2 separate regions of the Homo sapiens genome follow, and region 2 is linked to region 1. The links are contacts of gene promoters, found by promoter capture Hi-C in blood cells and fetal thymus (Javierre and others, 2016). All regions are on one chromosome and are shown on one strand. Each heading gives the region's core, a stretch centred on a gene start or on the middle of the fragment in contact. The rest is flanking DNA. Distances are from core to core; before and after follow the strand shown.

Region 1 (3,319 bases), core at 208-2,707:
AGATTGGAAGAGGGACTCTGGGCATCCGTGGTTGGCTAGGCCAGCAATTTCTCTCCCTGCCCACCTTAGGGCCTGCCACACCCTGCCCACTCCTAGAAGCTTATACCTGAGAGTTGAAGCCAGGGTGTTGGAGTGACTGTAGAAATCTTGTCCCCCACACACATAGAGTTCACTTCCTGCCAGGCTTGCAGCCCCATGCCGGAAGCGTCCGGGGGCAGGCAGGGCAGGCAGCTGCCCCCACTCAACAGTTCGTACCAGTCCCACGCCACAGCGGAAGGCCCGGGCCCACCACACTGCTCGGGATGGTTGTCTTAGGGCCATGTCTGGTCTGAGCCCATCCCCGCCAATCACTACCAGTGCCCGGTCAGGCTCCCTCCGTCTCTCTTGGCCTGGAACATCAGCCTCTACCATCAGCTGGTGCAACAGATCTGGGGTCAGGGGTGGAAGTAGCCCGGCTGCCCGCACCCTCCGCAACTCCCTGGTGGACATGCGGCCAAAGCGGACACATCGCAGCAGGGCCTTGGCCTCTGACTCCTGGGTCTCGGGGTTGGCAGCCAGCCAACACCGTGCAGCCACAAAGGCCTCAAACTCCTCCTGCACATGGAGCTCATCACTATCCAGGAGCTCAGCCAAGCAGGCAGCTGGTAAAGAAGGGAAAGCAGGACACAAGGCTACAGCAGGCAGGTGGGTGAGGAGGTAGTGACGGGCTTTGCTCCAGAGCCTCTCCAACCCAGGGGCTTCCGCCATGGGGAACAGGGCCAGGCAACGGGCAGGGCTGAGGCCCCGTGCCAAGCCTTTCTGACACAAATCCAAGCAGGAAGAGCTCTGGTACTGCAGAGCAGCCTGGGCAGCTCTCAGTAGCCCTGGCCACCTTGCCCGCACAACTCCGGAGTAAGCAAAAGAGACGAGGAGTCGCAGGTCCTGGGTGGAGATCGTCCGCAGAGATACCTCTGTGCCCTGGGATTCCCTCATCCCGCTCAGGAGCATGGCCCCAAAGAACTCACTGCCACAGGCCAGGGCGGCTCGGTGCACTGCAGGAGGGGAGAAGGAATAGAGGAGGACTCAAAGTATTGCAAGACCGATAGGCATTACCCCAACTTGGTACTCTAAGTTTGGCCAAACTCTAAGTTTGGCCCTCCAAGCCACCCACTGCTACAGACCAAACTGTGGTGTGCATCAGAATACCATGGGGTAGTTGTTAAAATGCAGGTTTCAGCAGTCCACTCCCAGAGATTCTGATTCAGCAGTTCTGGACGGAGACCCTAGAAATTTGTATTGTAACACTTCAAGTAACCCTATGTGATTCTCATGTTAGTGGCCTGAAGACACTTAGATAAACATTGCTTTAGTCTTTTTGGTCAGATGAGTCAGAAAAAGAGTCTTCATGGATCAGGTTGAGAGGAAAGCATTTGCTAAGAGGAGCACAAAATAAATGGGAAATGACCAACAAGCAACTTATATAGGTCTGTCTATATCGTGACAAAATAAAATTCTTTACAATCAAGAGCCAAGACTGTCAGCCATTCTGTTAGATTTTGCTGGGAAAGTGGCACCACTCGGGAATGGCTGTAATCCAACCTCATCGGATTGCTGTCTCCTCTTGCCTAAGATTTAGTGTTTAATGTTTTCCGTGCGTCCCAGCTTTTCTCTGCATAACCCTCTCCTGTTCTTGGTGTAATTTGTAGAATCATGAGATCTGAAACTTGAGAACTTCAAAATAATCTAATTCAATTATTCCCTTTAAAATAAGGAAACTGGTTGGGTGTCGTGGCACACACCTGTAATCCCAGCACTTTGGGAGGCTGAGGTGGGTAGGATCACTTGAGGTCAGGAGTTCAAGGCCAGCCTGGCCAACATGGTGAAACTCCATCTCTACCAAAAATACAAACATTAGCCGGGCATGGTGGCAGGCGCCTGTAATCCCAGCTACTTGGAGACTGAGGCAGGAGAATAGCTTGAACCTGGGAGGCGAGGGTTGCAATGAGCTGAGACTGCGCCGCTGCACCCAGCCTGGGTGACAGAGCGAGACTCCATCTCAAAATAAATAAATAAATAAAATGTGGAAACTGAGTTGGGTCCCAAAGAAAGCATGTGATTTATTTTTCATTTCCATGCAGTGGCTGTGTGGGCAGATCATCTCCATCCACTGCCACTGATGTCAGGCTGCAATAAGCATGCTTGTGTACCAATACCTTGGTTATCTGCATGGTCCTCATGACAATGAAACTGTCCTATTAACCTACGCTGTTAAACAATTAGACCTCATACTCAGCATCACTTATGGATTATTCTGGCCAAAATATTTAACTTGAATCTGTTCAACTCTTTAGATCTAAAGTCAAGTTTATAGGAAGTTGAAAGGCTAAAGGAACAATTTAGAGGGGAAAAACCACACAAATCAAGAAAATGGAGCATTTTATAGGATAACCAATTTTTTTTTTTTTGAGATAGGGTCTTACTCTGTCACCCTGCCTGGAGTGCAGTGGTACAATCTCGGCTCACTGCAACCTCCACCCTCCAGCTTCATGTGATTCTCGTGCCTCAGCTTCCAGATTAGCTGGGACTACAGGTGCACGCTACCATGCCTGGCTAATTTTTGTATTTTTAGTAGAGACGGTTTCGCCATGTTGGACAGGCTAACCTTGAACTCCTGGCCTCAAGTGATCTGCCTGCCTCGGCCTCCCAAAGTGTTGGGATTACAGGCGTGAGCCACTATGCCTGGCCCAGGGTAACCAATCTTACATGTTATTGTCTTTACCAATCAATATATAAAGTAATAAAAAAAAAAAAGGAGGAAGGACTGTACTAGATTAAAGGAAGCTTAAGAGACATGCAACTGAGAATAGCATAGTCCTTGATTAATTCCTGGGTTGAACAAACTCACTTTAAAAAATGTTTTTTGGACAACTGGGAAAATATAAATGTGGACTAGGTGATATTAAAAAATTACTGGCCAGGCGCGGTGGCTCATGCCTGTAAACCCAGCATTTTGGGAGGCTAAGGCAGGTGGATCACCTGAGGTCAGGAGTTCAAGACCAGACCAGCCAACATGGTGAAACCCCATCTCTACAAAAAATACAAAAATTAGCTGGGTGTGGTGGTGCACGCCTGTAATCCCAGTTACTCGGGAGGCTGAGGCAGGAGAATCACTTGAACCTGGGAGGTGAAGGCTGCAGTGAGCCGAGATCGTGCCATTGTACTCCAGCCTGGGTGACAGAACAAGATTCCATCTCAAAAAAAAGAAAGAAAGAAAGAAAGAAAGAAAGAAAGAAAGAAAGAAAGAAAGAAAGAAAGAAAGAGAGAAATTACTATTAATTTT
Region 2 (3,319 bases), core at 600-3,099, 570 kb after region 1:
CTATAATGATGAATGTACAAGTTAAACATTAAAGCAGAAGCAAGAAAAATGGATAAGGAATCGGGGGAAACTGGTGCCTGAGTACGAAAGCCAGAATACAAAAAAAGCAAGCCCTTTAAAGCCCCACCTATACTTTCTCTACCTCAGATCTAGCTGAGTGATAAAAGCATTCCTGCACATACAACCCATCCCAGGACCAACTTAAGATTAAGAAACTTCTGTCTGCAAGTACTCACTCACTATGGTGGGATCAGCTGCAAAGCGAACTGTCCCATGCTCATGTTGATGGTTTTCTAGATACTGCCAACATGTTAGCTCTTTCTGGTGCCGATGAATTTCAAACGCGAACAGACACCCTTGATGTGGGTTTGCTAAGAAAATAGAAGAACAGGAAGAAAAGTTGCCAGGTTCAGACATCCCAGGGAAAAAGAAGCGTAAACAGCATTAGCAATCAGTGACTGATGATAATGCTGCAATAATGGGAATGGTTTTATTTCTAAATCAAATCGTTTATTGCTTTGTTTCTAAAAAACAAAAAAAAAACTTCTACCTGCAGACCCCTAGTTTAGATTAATTAGGAAACATTCCCGCAGGTAGTCATAGAGCTTGAATTGTATATAAAAGCTAAAGAAAAGCTTGTAACTTTGAGTTGGTCTGGTGTGCTACTCCGACCTCCCTGTAATCAGTTGCAGAAATAAACTCCCGTCTTTCCCAGTCTGTCTGTCTGCATCTCATTACCGGACCACAAGAACAAGCAGCAGGACCAGTAACACTGTAAGAATCATCCAGTAACACTGTAAGAATACTGCTTCTACCAGAGGCCAGGACTTCCCTAGGAAAATAATCTGGAGTAGCAAGGAAAGCTGCCTCCAGAGCTCTGAGAACTGGCTCAACAGGTCTCAGGGTTGTTATGTGGGCCACCTGAATAGGGGAATCAGCAGCTGCCTGGCCTCTTGTACTAACGCCTTCCCTTCTGTCTTTCCCAGGGTCCCTCAGCTACCCTAGAGTATGTATGGGAAATGCCCCAGACATTTCCATCAAGAGTGATTCCCATCAGAACTGAATCTTCTACCCCCACCTCTCTATATCCAGGTAGAATCCTCCCATTCACTCAGTTCATTTCTGTTTTCCCCTAAGCCTTGCTGTTTCAGGGCTAGAGCAGCTTCCTTTGTCTTAAACCTTAAATGTCTTTTTTTCCACAGTTCTTACCAGGAAACAGGCACAGTTAGAAGTTGTAACAGTATAAATGTTGTAATACCAGACATCTCAACTCATTCCTCTCAAAACTGATCCCAATCAAAAGAGAAAGAAAAAAAACAAATCAACTTACCACTAGACATTTCCATGCCTGGAGCTATTTTTCTGGGGTTACAGGAAAGGGTAGTTCCCTCATGTGGGTACTAGTTCCCACAGAGTAGCACCAGCACCACCTCTCAGCCCCACCTCTTTACCTCCAGGTGGCCCCAAATCTCTGAAAGCGGGTGGTTCAAGTATCAGCATTGCAACCTATAAGACTTGGGATGAGGTGGAGAGGGTATGGAAGGCTTAGATCAAACGTCCTGAGTGAGACAGGACCAGATTGTCCCCAGTACAAAATAGCTGGGAAGCAGCTACCATAGACTTTCCTATTTTGGATTAGACCAACCCCAAGCACATGAACTAAGACTATCCGTAGCTCTTGGATTAGTCATGCCATTGAAGAGGAGGAGAAGACGCCACTGGGCTGTGCCTGGCAGGGAGTCTGGAGTTTCTGGTTTCCAAGCTCAGGAAGGCGTGAACCAGGGGAGGGGCCTCCATGCAGGGGGAGGGCTAGAAGCTGGGGCAGGATCTGTCAGCTCTGCAATGCTGCAGAAGCAGAAGCAACACAGAAAGAAGATACCAACAGCCTCCTGAAACTCACGAGAGTGGACACTCCAGTGTTGACCACCTAAGATACCACTCCTGCTCCAAAGATTACAGCTCCCTTGTCATTCTGACTCCTGGGCTTACCCTACACCCCAGAGATGGAGCAACTACTAGGAATAAAACTTGGCTGCCTGTTTGCCCTGTTGGCTCTCACTCTGGGCTGTGGCCTTACTCCCATCTGCTTCAAATGGTTCCAGATTGATGCAGCCAGAGGTATAGCCCTACCCCATCTTTGTTCCATAGCCTGAGTCTCACCTCAACCCTGTCCTGATACCTTGCTCTGATTCTCTCACCATCCCCAACCTTGGGATATTGAGTGCTGCCTGCTGCTCTTTACTCACCTTTGTCTGTCTCCTCAGTGTCAAGTGGGTTGTAACTTCTGCTTTTTATTAGGTCATCACCGGCTAGTCCTCAGACTCCTGGGCTGTATTTCTGCTGGTGTTTTCCTGGGAGCAGGGTTCATGCATATGACTGCTGAAGCCCTGGAGGAAATTGAATCACAGATTCAGAAGTTCATGGTGCAGGTGAGAGCAGAGATTTCAAGCCGCAGGTCTATGAGGCCAAAATGATAAACAGGACAAAGGGAAGAGAGCGGGAAAGTGATGGAGCCAAGGACATGGGTGGAACGACAAGGAAAATGACAGCTCTTGTGTGGGATGGTGAAAGCAAGTCAGATTAGGCTTTAAGGAAAACAGAATTGCTGAAGGGACAGCACAGGAAGCTGTGCTGCTCCATCCCACATCTAATTTCTGCTGCTTTCTTCTTAGAACAGATCAGCAAGTGAGAGAAATTCTTCTGGTGATGCTGATTCAGCTCATGTAAGTACCTCCCACCATCCCCTATCTGGAGAGTGAGGAGAACCAGAGAGGCCTTTCATATCCAGACCCTTTTGAGAGGAATACATGAGGAGTACCAAGAATCCCTTCTGCTCCCTAGCTCAGACATCGTAGAGGAAAAGAGGAGCAAATCCAATCCTTTTGAGTTTATAGAATGCCAGGGAAAGCCCTTGTTTTACTCTTTCATTCTTTCCCTGGATCCTCTGATATACCTCACATCATTTGCCCATGTTTTTAACTCTATTGAGATTCTGTCCCTTAGCCCCTCTGGCAGTCTTTTGTTGTTGTTGTTTTTCGTTTGTTTGTTGAGATGAAATCTCTCTGTCGCCCAGACTGGAGTACAGTGGCACAATCTCGGCTCACTGCAACCTCTGCCTTCCGAGTTCTAGTGATTTTCCTGCCTCAGCCTCCTGAGTAGCTGGGATTACAGGCACGTGCCACCACACCTGGCTAGTTTTTGTATTTTTAGTAGAGACGGGGTTTCATCATGTTGGCCAGGCTGGTCTCAATCTCCTGACCTCAAGTGATCTGCCCACTTCAGTCTCCCAAAGTGCTAGGATTACAGGCATGAGCCACTG

The links. The method cuts DNA at HindIII sites, captures the fragments that hold promoters and counts their contacts. A CHiCAGO score of 5 or more calls a contact.
Region 2: a contact is called between the fragment with the promoter of SLC39A2 here and a fragment that was not itself captured in region 1, in 1 of 17 cell types (M0 macrophages). The highest score is 5.1, in M0 macrophages.

Annotation. Positions count from the first base shown.
Region 1 is chr14:20,429,689-20,433,007 of GRCh38, forward strand. KLHL33 (kelch like family member 33) reads right to left here. Exons shown (of 5, transcript NM_001365790.2): 3 at 107-1,031. Among named protein-coding and RNA genes, the nearest start is that of KLHL33, 4.8 kb to the right of the region's middle. The HindIII fragment of the contact is 2,721 bases long and covers 98-2,818 here.
Region 2 is chr14:20,997,444-21,000,762 of GRCh38, forward strand. SLC39A2 (solute carrier family 39 member 2) reads left to right here and starts at 1,850. Exons shown (of 4, transcript NM_014579.4): 1 at 1,850-2,118; 2 at 2,299-2,429; 3 at 2,673-2,723. The coding sequence starts at 2,004. It overlaps LOC101929718 (a long non-coding RNA gene), which reads right to left and starts at 1,720. Exons shown (of 4, transcript NR_110139.1): 1 at 1,331-1,720; 2 at 237-371. RefSeq lists an enhancer at 1,909-3,108. The HindIII fragment of the contact is 5,548 bases long and covers 634-3,319 here.